2 separate regions of the Homo sapiens genome follow, and region 2 is linked to region 1. The links are contacts of gene promoters, found by promoter capture Hi-C in blood cells and fetal thymus (Javierre and others, 2016). All regions are on one chromosome and are shown on one strand. Each heading gives the region's core, a stretch centred on a gene start or on the middle of the fragment in contact. The rest is flanking DNA. Distances are from core to core; before and after follow the strand shown.

Region 1 (6,010 bases), core at 1,798-4,297:
TAAGATAAAATGAAAAGGCTTTGTAAGTCTTAATGGCATTCTGAAACCTCTGGACAGAAGATCATTGGGCATGGAGGAGTTTCCCTTCTCTATTGATAGCTTAATCCTTTTCCAATCAATTTTGATTTAACTGTGGGTGATGAGATTAATCTTTTAATGAGTTCTTAGAAAGTTGTAATTGCTTCCAAAATCAGAAACCACAAGATGATGTACTCAAACACGTTACTGATGTGATGTTGTATAGAGGTATTTACAGAAAGTTGGAAGAACTCAGTTGTAAACACAAGTTAACATACAATAGACTACAAAAATAATAACTTGTTTATACAGTAGGGCAAGAAAAAACATTCTATATAAGAAGTCTAAAAATTCAGCTCTAATTTTAATCCATGTCTATAAATAATAAAAACAAGAGGAAATAAGGATTTATTTCAGAAACTCCATATACCTGTGGAAAATGGAACACAAGTAATTTCTACTGAAGATTAACCTTAATCCCCATTATAGTACAGCTAACAATTTACACATTTTAAATTTTGAAAATATCGTGGAAATCTAAAACATAAGAGCCGATAGTAGTTTATGGTCAGTAAACACTTTCTGTTAAATAACACAAATAAATTCAACTTAGAAAATGAAAACTCACAGGGCTCAGGATTTTAAAAATCTTTTCATTTCAAAGGCGCAAAGTTACAACCCATGCATAGGATGGACTTTAAAAATGGATGTGTAAACTTTTCCATGGTGTTGGTGTGTGTGCTTTCCTTCCCCCTAAAGAAATGCCTACTGCTTACAATTTTAAAGAATCTTCACCACTCTGTAATTTTCAACCAGAAGTCCTCAATGTACCTTAAGCCAAATTGAATATTAAGGTATTTTACAGTTTTTACAAAATGGCTGTAAAATCACATTATGGGCATACACAGCTCTTTGATCTCACTGCACAGAATTCATAACTGTTCAATAATGCTATACCATTACACCACACACCTTAAACTATTTCCATTTTTCCACAATTCCTTCCAAAATCAGCTTCCAAAGCAAAGCAATGTAACATGAAAAGTTCCTGGGAGGGCTTGTTACACAAAGGAACAGTTTGGATACAAACTATACACATATCCATCTTCGGTTGAGGCTGTTTATCCCTCCTGTCCCTCCATCACTCCTATGGGTGGGTGCACTGGAGTAACAGAAAGGGAAGGCTCTTCCATCACCACACCCTCCCAGCACCTCTGCTTTTGGTCCTCAGACAGTGATTCTGTGTAGGTGATGAAAACCATAAGAAAAGAGAAGCTGTCCCTTTAAAATGCCCTGCTCTGTCCCATATCCCACGTGGAACCAACATCAGCAGCACTTTCCCATTAACATCAATGTGATGCAAGAGACATCATCCTTTTATACACATAAAACCAGAAAACCTCAGCTTAACATTCTTTAGGAAGGATGAACAGGTGAAGCAAACATGTCAGGAAGGGGGAAACCAAGCAACTCCACATCCCTCCCCAAAAGGTACTCCAGCCTTGCACTCCAGCCTCTCTGAGCACCATCACCTCTCTATCCCTCCTCTGCAGAGCCCAGTTTAAAGAAAGGAGGGAGCCACTAACAAAACCTGAAGCATAAATGCGACGAAAATGCAATCTAAAGCCGGAAAGGTTCATTCTTCCAATCACACATATTAACTCTATTAAGAAAATGGCATCACTTTTTTTTCCACCCAAAAAAACCCCGCAAAGATCATTAAAAGAGAGTTATAAAATAGCAAATATAGTGTTTATCTTATCTGAGATCAGTCCACATTACCAATAAGTTTAGCAGTTTCTGCACTACCACCTCCCCCCTCGCTCCCCCTGCTTCTCTTGCATCGGATTTTCACGTTTTCTCATTGTCGGTTGAGTTATAAAAGGCTTTTGCCCTTCGAAAGTTTTAAAAAATAAATAAATATTAACTCCTTGGTCCCTGCAAAGTCAAAATGGACTTCAGGGGAAAGGCGGTACATACTTTTACCTTTAGCGAGAAAAGGGGGAGCATCCCGGATTTTTAGGGATTTTTTGCGATTTTTTAAAAATTTTTATTTGGTTATATGCCTGAGTTCTCCCTCCATTTTGGTTGTTTATGATACTGACAACAAGCTGTCCCTGCTCTGTGCCGATCTCCTGCTTTCATTTAGCACCCCCTCCCCCTACCCCCCCTCGCAGCCACACACCCCGGGCTCACACCTCCCTGCAGACCCCGCACCCCGACCCCGGCTTGCCCACCTGAGGAAAGGGCAAAAACAAATTCATTTCTCCAGAAAAGAAAAACCTCTTTTGAAAAAGGGGCAAAGTTACCCCAAGTCACTCAAAGTGCCCCCCAAATATTGCCGACTGCGGGTTTCCGCCAGGCCCTTTGGGAAGCGACCTTCCCCCGGGATGTTTTGGTGGAAAATGCGGAGAGTTTACTCTCAAAACTGAATTTATATTAATTTTTCCCTTATTTTTCGGGTCTCTAATGTCTTCCGCTCTCGCTGCTGCCGCTGCCGCTGTCACAATATTCACAGCACCAGAGAGGAGGAGGAGGAGGAGGAGGAGGAAAACTTTTCAAACTTTCCAGACCCTGAATAAAGGTTTTTTTTTTTTTCCCACCGACCTCACCTTCGGGTCCCCAGCCGCATCGCCCCCTGCCCTGTCAGAAGCGACTTCGGGAGTCCTCGCAGCCCCGCGTAATTATTTTATTTTATTTTTTATTATTATTTTTCTCTCTGGGGTCCTGAGCAGGGGCTGAGAGTAGCACAAACTTTTCCTCCTCCTGCCGCCGCCGCTGCTCCTCTGCCCCCTCGGCTAGTCCCATAATTTAAATAACCCTGATATTTCTCCCGCTAAACGCCTCGCCGCCGCCCCGGACCCCCGGAGAACTCACCGCGGGGCTTTAACATCCTCCCTCCGGCCCGTCCGCCGCCTCTACACCGCCCGCGGAATTTCTAATAATTTTTTTCTCATATTTCGGGCTGGACGCGGCGGGCCTGGAAATTGTTTCCTTACGCCTCTTTCCAGCAGCCATTGTAGTGTATGCGCTGCCCCTGCAGCCCAACTTGCAGCTGCCGCCGCCGCCGCCGCCGCCGCCGCCGACGTCGCGCCCACCGCTGCCTCCCCCTGCCTGTTCGGCCACCGCCCCCGCCTCCCGTCGGCCCGCCCCCAAACCCCGCCCGCCGCTGCGCCCGCCCCCCGCGCGCGCTCCGCCCGAGAGCTGGCCACTCGGAGCCGCCGCTGGCGGGAGTTGGCCCGCCCATTGGGCCGCGACGCCGCCCGTCAAGCCGAAGTGTTAAGAGACGGGCCGCGGCTGGGGGGCGCGGTGGGGCGGGGGAAGAGGGGGCGGGGTCGCGCTCACCGCCCCGCCCACTCCTCCCGCCTCGGCCCTCCTTTCGCCAGGCGGGGGCGGGGCGAGGCCCGACCGCCCCTGCGGCCCAGGGCCCCGCGCGGCTGTCAGTCTGGCGGCGGCGCGCGCCGATTGGGCGGGCTGCCGCCGGGGAGCGGGGGCAGCAAGTTGGGATGCGCGCTACTTAAGGTCCTGCTGCGTGAGCCATTGACGTGTTTGGAGCTGGAGACGGCCTGGGTGCTGGCGAAGCGGAGGCCGGAGGTGAGTGGTTCCCCCGCCCTACCTCCGAAGCGGCCGCAGAAAAGCGGGGAGAGAGGGGTGCCCTTGGGCCGTAGCGGGGCCCGAATGCACTTCTGCGGCGCGGAGGCGCTCCCGCCAGGCTTCGCCGCAGCGCGGACCTCTTCCCGTTGCTCTTCCTCCCGCCACACGGGTCTGTTCGCTCCGGGGGCGAGGAAGATGACCTCTGCCTAGTCCGGGCAACCCCAGCTCTTCTTCCACTCTCCTGTGTAGCCTCTGAAGCGCAGTTACCGGCCCCACCCCCAGTTCCCTGCGTTTTCCTCGCCCCTTGTCTCTCTCGGCATGGTCTCGGCACAGCAAGGTGTGTTCACCTGTGCGCGCCGTCCAGGATCAGATGCTGACGGGCTACACCGCGGAAGGCGGCGAGGCCTCGGGTTCGCCCTTCGTTTCTCCTTGCCCTGCGCGCCCACCTCCGGCAGGCCACCCTTGACTTCTTGCCCCCTTCCACTTTGCACCTGGCAGTGGGTTAACGGCACGGCGTGTGCAGCTTCCGGGTTTAGCAGAGCCGCGGACCCTGCCTGGGCTCCGACCACGGGGCGTGTGGGCATGAACGTGTTCAGAAACGTTTCCTTCCCCCTGCCCTTTCAAAGCTACTTAGAGAGGGGGGACGTGAACCACTGGATGGGAAATCAGGAACTGCTTTATTAAGCAGTTTGCCCTTTGGAGTGGATTTTAGAGTTATCCCCTGAATGTGCTATGGTTTTGTGGCCCCTCCTTCATATCTTTGCTTGGTTTTTCTTTCTGGTTATGCTCTGCAAGTAGTAGAGCCTTGTAACATTTATTTAGTACATTCAAAAAGTAATAGACAAGGCCCCTTTAGCGGAGCACTCGATGTTGTAATTCAGCCCCGCTCCTCACTGTAAATTGACATTTCCTCTTCAATTCCAGTTAATACACGAGGAACTCATGCAAAGGAGGGGACTTTCGGAAATCCAAACTTAGAGTGCCTTGTATTTAGAATCCGGAAGGAAAAGGAAATGAAATGTGAAGAAACTCATGCACCAAACTCGAACTGGGTATATGTGATGTTACCTAGGTATTATTTTTGAAGAATTTCTGACTGACAATAAAATATAGAGTAGGATACTTTCATGTAAGGCACGAAACTTAAATTTAATGCAAGGTTGTCTGATCCTTGTTGAGATTATTAAATCTAAGGTGTATGAAGAGTTCTGTGTTCTCACATCATAGGATAGGTGTAAAAAAGAAAGCTGTGAATTTATTTACTATCATCATCTCTCTTAGGAAGAAGGGAAGTGTGGAAAAAAATTGTCTTCAGGAGAGGAAGAAGCTTGTAGATATAATTGAACAGCATCTTGATTTCTTTTTTGCCAAGATGTTACTGTTGGCTGGTTATTTTCTTGTATTGTTCAATGAAAATCATAAAATTATTATTCAGTGATTACTTAATGGACACCAGAATAACCAAACCCTTTTCCATTCTTTTTTTTGCAAAGGCTGGTCTCCTTTGGCCTGGACGTCCTGATCTTTCCCATAGTAGAACTGGGCTGGGTGTCTCTTTTTTTTTTTTTTGAGACGGCGTCTTCCACTGCTGTCGCTTGGGCTGGAGTGCAGTGGCGCGATCTCGGCTCACTGCAACCTCTGCTTCCCAAGTTCAGGCGATTCTCTTGCCTCAGCCTCCTGAGTAGTTGGGATTACAGGCGCGTGCCACCACGCTCAGCTAATTTTTGTATTTTTAGTAGACAGGGGGTTTCACCATGTTGGCCAGGCTGGTCTTGAACTCCTGACCTCGTGATCCGCCCGACTCGGCCTCCTAAACTTTTGCAAAGCTGTATCTCTAGGAATTGAATTGGAAGATTACTGAAGCACAGTAGCATTCCCTGACTTCCTGCAACGCAGGGAAATAGTTAAAAAGAAGATGCCACTGGAAGTAAAATTTCAACTCTTTTGTTTTTGAAACAGTATAGCTTTTCATAATGTCAACTAAGCAATAACTTGGCTTTTTGGTGTGTTGGCTACCCTACTATTGGCCATAAAATAGGCACTCTGGTACTTCAGTTGATGAATGTTTTTGCTAAAGTTGGACTGTACCGAATTTCATTCTTATTTTGTACGCTAATTGGTGTAAAATAAGGAAGTAATTGTTGGAATGCATACTGTATTCTTAGGTTTTATTAGTACATTTGGTTGCTTAAACTTAAGAATAAGAGTAAACAACAACTGAATTATAATTGAACTATCTTTCTTTTTCGTTTTTTTGAGACAGGGTCTCTCTCTGTCACCCAGGCTGGAGTGCACTGGTGCAATCACAGCTCTCTGCAGCCTTGACTTCCTGGGCTATCCCACCTTACTTAGCCTTCCAAGTAGCTGGGACCACAGGCACACGGCACGACACCAGGCT
Region 2 (6,010 bases), core at 1,264-3,763, about 18 Mb after region 1:
GTCTATTTTAGGATGGCATATTCTGGTCTTCTACAGTCATATTTCAGAGTCAGGGTTTCTCCGTGTTGCCCAGACTGGTCTCGAACTTCCTAAGCTCAAGCAATCAGCCTGCCTAGGCCTCCCAAAGTGCTGGGATTACAGGCCTGAGCCACTGTCCCAGCCAATTATTTTATATTTAAAACAGTACAATGAAGTACATAAAATGATTTCCTTCTTACAAATAAGGAAACAGGCTTAGAGAGGCTAAATAATTTGCCAAAGTCACCCAGTTTATGAATAGAAAAATCCAAATTTTATCTTGGGAATTCTATTTTTTTTAATGTTGCTTTTTGTTTGTAATGATGTCCACACAAAGGATCTACCTTGGGAATTCTAACTCTAGGACTCTAAAAATCGAATTCTCCAACCAGTGCACATATTATCTTTCAGAATCCTTTCATTTAATGACCCATATCAATAGGTTTTAGAAAAAAAGTAATACTGATCAAGTTTATTCATTTTGAACTACAAAACTTAAGTTAAACTTAAGGTAGGATGGATTTTACGTTTTACCAAGGATATCTATGCCCCCAAATATATCTAATTGGTGAATTTTCAGTTCAACAAAATTCTTAAAAATGTAATTTTGTCCAACAAGCCTATATTGAATGCCAGACACTAGAGATATAGAGATGAATAAGATACAGTTCCTGCCCTCACATTGCTTATACTCAGGAAGATGGATCTAAGAAAGGATTTAACAGAATATGGGAAAAGTTACTTACTGGCTATGATGGAAGCAAACGGTAGGAGCATTTGACCCCACCTGGGAGCTAAGGACATGTGTCTGGAAGAGCCGACATCTGAGCAGAGGTGCAAAGGGGTACAGGAAAGGAATTGGGAGAGGAAACATAACTAGGTGATTGGTGTTTACAAGGGATGACAAACAGATTGGTATTGCCTAACAGAAATTGTAAAGACAGAGTGGAAGATGTGACCAAAGAGGCAAGTAAGACCAGGTCATGGAAGGTTTTATTTATTTAGCCTGTGACACAGCCTTGAGGTGATTCTCAGAACATGTGCCCTTCATGGAAGGTTCTGTTGGCTAATGAGGGGGCTGGACTTGATCTTAGAGATCATTTGGCACATTCGAGGTATTTCCAAATAGAAAGTGGTAAACCAGGCTGGGTGCAATGGCTCACGCCTGTAATCCCAGCACTTTGGGAGGCTGAGGAGTGTGGATCACCTGAGGTCAGGAGTTTGAGACCAGCCTGGCCAACATGGTGAAACCCCGTCTCTACTAAAACTACAAAAATTAGCCAGGCATAGTGGTGCGTGCCTGTAATCCCAGCTACTTGGGAGACTGAGGCAGGAGAATCGCTTGAACCCGGGAAGCGGAGGGTGCAGTGAGCCGAGATCATGCCACTGTATCCCAGCCTGGGCGACAGAGCGAGACTTCATCTCAAAAAACAAACAACAACAACAAAAACAAAAACAATAAACCAGACTTGTGTTTTAGAATGATTGTTCTAGTGGATGAACAGATTTGATCAGGTAAAGTCAGCAAAGAAAAATCAGGAAAGTAAGCTATTGCCAAGGAGTGAGAAAGTGAGGATGGACTAGGACATGTATGGAAAGGAAGGGAAGGGCTCTAGCGACAGGAGGGAGAGCAGACAGGACTGAGAGATCTGTTGTTTGTAGGGAAGGAGGAGGAGGAAAGAGTTGAGTGCTAGATTTCTGGTTTGAAAATAGAGGAGTTAGTAGAAATGGAGGCAATGAAAGTAGAAGAGGAAGAAAAAAGAATTCCCTTTTGGACATGTTTGAGATTTTCAAGTTTCCTATAGGTCATCTATTTCAGTCAGGTATTTTTCAAGTGTAAGTTGTAAAACCCATCTCAAATGAATTCAAATAGGGAGGGGAAAATAAATTCCTTAAGAAATTGTGGGAACAGAAGCTTAGCTGAAGTGGAGGGCCACTTTTTCTGTGTCTCTGTGTGAACAAAATAACCCCCAGTCTCCAGGCTCATATCCCTCCTACCAGCTCAGCAGCCCCAGGGATAGTTCTAGCTACAAAGATCTGATTGGCTTTAATCAGCTCCATCTCTCAACTAATCATCATAGTGATGAAGGAAGTGAGGTATTTACTCTGATTGGTTAGGTCTTGGCTGACTCTTACAGCATTGTGGCTGCAGTGTGGGGGTGGTCAGCCCCGCCCAGGTCACGTGTAACGAGACATCCCAGAAGGAAGAAGCTTCTTAAACTAAAATGGGAGGAGATAAGAGATGCCAGAGAAACATAAACTACAGATGTCCACTACTACAAGGAATATATTCAGTATATTCAGCAGACAATTCTACACCACAAGTTTCCGGCCCTTAAGCTGAGAGAAGGTGGGGAGAAACTCTCATTTAAGTAGAAGTTTTTGATTGTGATAACATTAGATGGCTTGAACATTTTAATGTCTGATAAGAGGCTGTTCTTGTGATAGAGGGACTAGAGCAGTTCTGGCAACTTTCTGAGATTTCATCCAGGGCAGAGAAAGCCCATCAAGCAGGTTTGAAAGGATAACAGGCAACAGCACCACATGGAGTCCAGCACATTCAGTAAAATGATTACATTTAAACCAGGAAAATAAAGAGATCACCCCAATACAGATTAGGAAAGAGAAGAACATGATGCTGAAGTCAGAAGCTAGGGGAACATGAGCATTTAGAAGCCAAAAAAAGGTCCTCAGGAATCAGTACTCAGTAGCGAGTACCATATTTTCTGTTGGAATGAGTTGTGGCGTGAACTGGTAACTGAAGAAATAGATACATCAAGAAGCTTAACTGAAGCCAGGTGCGGTGGCTCACACCTAAAATTCAACAGTTTAAGAAGCAGGGAGGGGGCAAGATGCAGTGGCTCACGTCTGTAATCCCAGCACTTTGGGAGGCCAAGGTGGACGGATCACTTGAGGTCAGGAGTTTGAGACCAGCCTGGCCAACATGGGGAAACCCCGTCTGTACTAAAACAGTACAAAAATTAGCTGGGCATGGTGGCGAGAGCCAGAAATCCCAGCTATGGGGGAGGCTAAGGCAGGAGAATCGCTTGAACCTGGGAGGCGGGGATTACAGTAGTGAGCGAGATCTTGCCACTGCACTCCAGCCTGGGCGACAGAGCAAGACTCTGTCTAAAAAAAGAGAAGAAGCAGCTGGGAGGGGAGGATTGGGATTGCTTGAGGCCAGGAGTTTGAGACCAGCCTAGGGAACACAGGGAGGGCCCCTCTCCCCATCTCTATCTACAACAAATAAAAAATTAGCTGGGCAAGGTGGTGCATACCTGTAGTCCTAGCTACTTTAAAGGCTAAGTTAGGAGGATCCCTTGAGCCTAGGCATTCAAGGCTGCAGTGAGCTAGGTTTGCACCAGGGCACCTCACTGCTCTCCAGCCCCGGCAACAGAGCAAGACTTTGTCTCAAAAAAAAAAAAAAAAAAGCTTAATCTGAGAAAAGAAAGTGGGAAATGAGATAAATGCAAAGTCAAGAGTAGGGAACAGTTTAGTTTTTTATTTGCTTATTTTAGAAAGAGATTTGAGCATTTTCATTGCCTAAAGAGAGTCTGAGAGGTCAAAGAATAAGGAGAGAGAGAAGTGTTTCAAAATGCTAGGAGTCTGAAGATGGAAGGCTGTGTGGGTGATGTACATTGGTTTTGAGGTGGAGGAAGACTCCTAATAGCTTTTTATGTTATAATACCATAGGACTGGGGGACATATTCTCCTATGATATGACATAGGAATTATAAAACCACAAGATAGACATGGTACGTCTCTGTAGAACAAGAATTTTACTGTTTGGTAAGTTATTTAAAACAGAGTGGGCCGGGCGCGGTGGCTCACTCCTGTAATCCCAGCACTTTGGGAGGCCGAGGCGGGCGGATCACAAGGTCAGGAGATCGAAACCATCCTGGCTAACACGGTGAAACCCCGTCTCTACTGAAAATACAAAAAAAAAAAAAAAAAAAAAAAAAAATTAGCCGGGCGCGGTAGCGGGTGCCTGTAGTCCCAGCTACTCGGGAGGCTGAGGCAGGAGAATGGCGCGAACCCGGGAGGCGGAGCTTGCTGCCGAGATCGCGCCACTGCACTCCAGCCTGGGGGACAGAGCGAGACTCCGTCTCAAACAAAAGAAAACAAAAAAACAGAGCGTTCTTCAGACTCTGGAATTCAAGTTCACACTCCAGTGGAAATTGAGAATCATTGAGGTAGATGTTAAACTTCATCATATTGCTTCCTTTTACTTAATTGGCTGTATCAAATGAAATGAAAAATAACAGTTTAAAAGGATTAGAGAAGCTGGCCTTGAAGAGGGATCTTACTGGCTGAAGATAAGTTTGAGCAACAAAATAAGGAATGTGACAAAATGAAACACATAACTATATACATAGACGTATCTATACATAATATAAATATGTATTGCACATAAAAGCAATGAGAGATTTAAAGAATAATAAGTTTGCAAACCCTAGTAAAATAATGGAGTCTGGCATTGATCTTCAATTCGTGTTAAAACCATTAGCTGAAAAGTTGAGGAAGAGTCTAATAATGGATGAATCACACGGACACACATAAATTTATTGATTAATTTTAATGTCAGTAAAAGTGGGACAGCCAGATATTATGTGCTTCCTGAAGGTGGTTAGGAAGTAATAGATTAAGCACTCTTACCAAAAGAATGTAATCAAGACCTATATCTCATGATCAGTCTATAGGAAATACAGAGTGAGTGAAGTGCAAAATAGAGGAACTTGTAAAACCACATCAAGAGGCTGCAAACAGCCAAAGTCAGATTATAGGAAATTCTACAGAACAAATGACTTAGTTTCTTCAATAAATGGTATAAAAGGGAGATCGAGGGAAACTCTCATAGATTAAAAGATACCCAAGAGACATATTAAACAAATGCAATATGTTAACCTCGTTTGGATCCTGACTCAAAGAACTAACTGTAAAAATACATTTTTAAAACAACAGGAGAAATTTTTTTTTTTTTTCTGAGATGGAGTCTCACTCTGTTACCCAGGCGAAGGGCAGTGGTGTGATCTCGGCTCACTGCAACCTCCGCCTCCTGGGTTCAAACGATTCTCCTGCCTCAGCCTTCCGAGTAGCTGGGACTACAGGCATGCGCCGCCACGCCCGGCTAATGTTTTTGTATTTTTGGTTGAAACGGGGTTTCACCATATTGGTCAGGCTGGTTGCAAACTCCTCACCTCAAATGATTCACCCGCCTCGGACTCCCAAAATGCTGGCATTACAGGCGTGAGCCACCGTGCCTGGCCAACAGGAGAAATTTCAACACAGGCTGGATATAGTTTGAAAAGACAGAGTAAAAGAACATTAGATATGATAGATATGAAAGTCACAAAAGTGTTATTAAATATATAGGCATAGATGATGGTTTCTGCAGAAAAATAACATGAATGGAACAGAAAAAATATGTAAAAGATTTGTGGCATAATGAGAAATATATATTTGGTCTTTGTCCTCAGTTCCTGACACAGAGCTCCTAAAACTCCTAATTTCCTGAGTGATAGGAGCACCTTTTGTTCTAATATTGTGACTCTTAGCAGGCCCCTAGATAACTAGCTTCAGGTTGGAGGCTAGAAAGATGGCACCTTGGCCGGGTGCGGTGGCTGATGCCTGTAATCCCAGCACTTTGGGAGGCCGAAGTGGGCAGATCACGAGGTTAGGAGATGGAGACCATCCTGGCCAACATGGTGAAACCCCGTCTATACTAAAAATACAAAAATTAGCTGGGTGTGGTGGTGTGCGCCTGTGATCCCAGCTACTTGGGAGGCTGAGGCAGGAGAATCAATTGAACCTGGGAGGTGGAGGTTGCAGTGAGCCGAGATGGCATCACTGCACTCCAGCCTGGGCAACAGAGCGAGACTCTGTCTCAACAACAACAACAACAACAACAACAACAACAAACAAAAAAGAAAGATGGCACCTTGATTAGAATCCTGGAACTTTCAGCCCCCCTCACCCCCAAACGTATAGGGAG

The links. Contacts are between HindIII fragments. The CHiCAGO score rates a contact against its expected background, and 5 or more counts as called.
Region 2: a fragment that was not itself captured here is called in contact with the fragment with the promoter of PLAG1 in region 1 in 1 of 17 cell types (non-activated CD4 T cells); the score reaches 5.2 in non-activated CD4 T cells.

Annotation. Positions count from the first base shown.
Region 1 is chr8:56,208,226-56,214,235 of GRCh38, forward strand. It overlaps PLAG1 (PLAG1 zinc finger), which reads right to left and starts at 3,048. Exons shown (of 5, transcript NM_002655.3): 1 at 2,896-3,048. It overlaps CHCHD7 (coiled-coil-helix-coiled-coil-helix domain containing 7), which reads left to right and starts at 3,564. Exons shown (of 4, transcript NM_001011671.3): 1 at 3,564-3,612. RefSeq lists silencers at 3,033-3,592, 3,435-3,660 and enhancers at 3,673-3,742, 5,313-5,812. The HindIII fragment of the contact is 9,849 bases long and covers 1-4,937 here.
Region 2 is chr8:73,890,981-73,896,990 of GRCh38, forward strand. No RefSeq gene overlaps it. Among named protein-coding and RNA genes, the nearest start is that of LINC01617, 15 kb to the left of the region's middle. RefSeq lists an enhancer at 2,231-2,310. The HindIII fragment of the contact is 572 bases long and covers 2,228-2,799 here.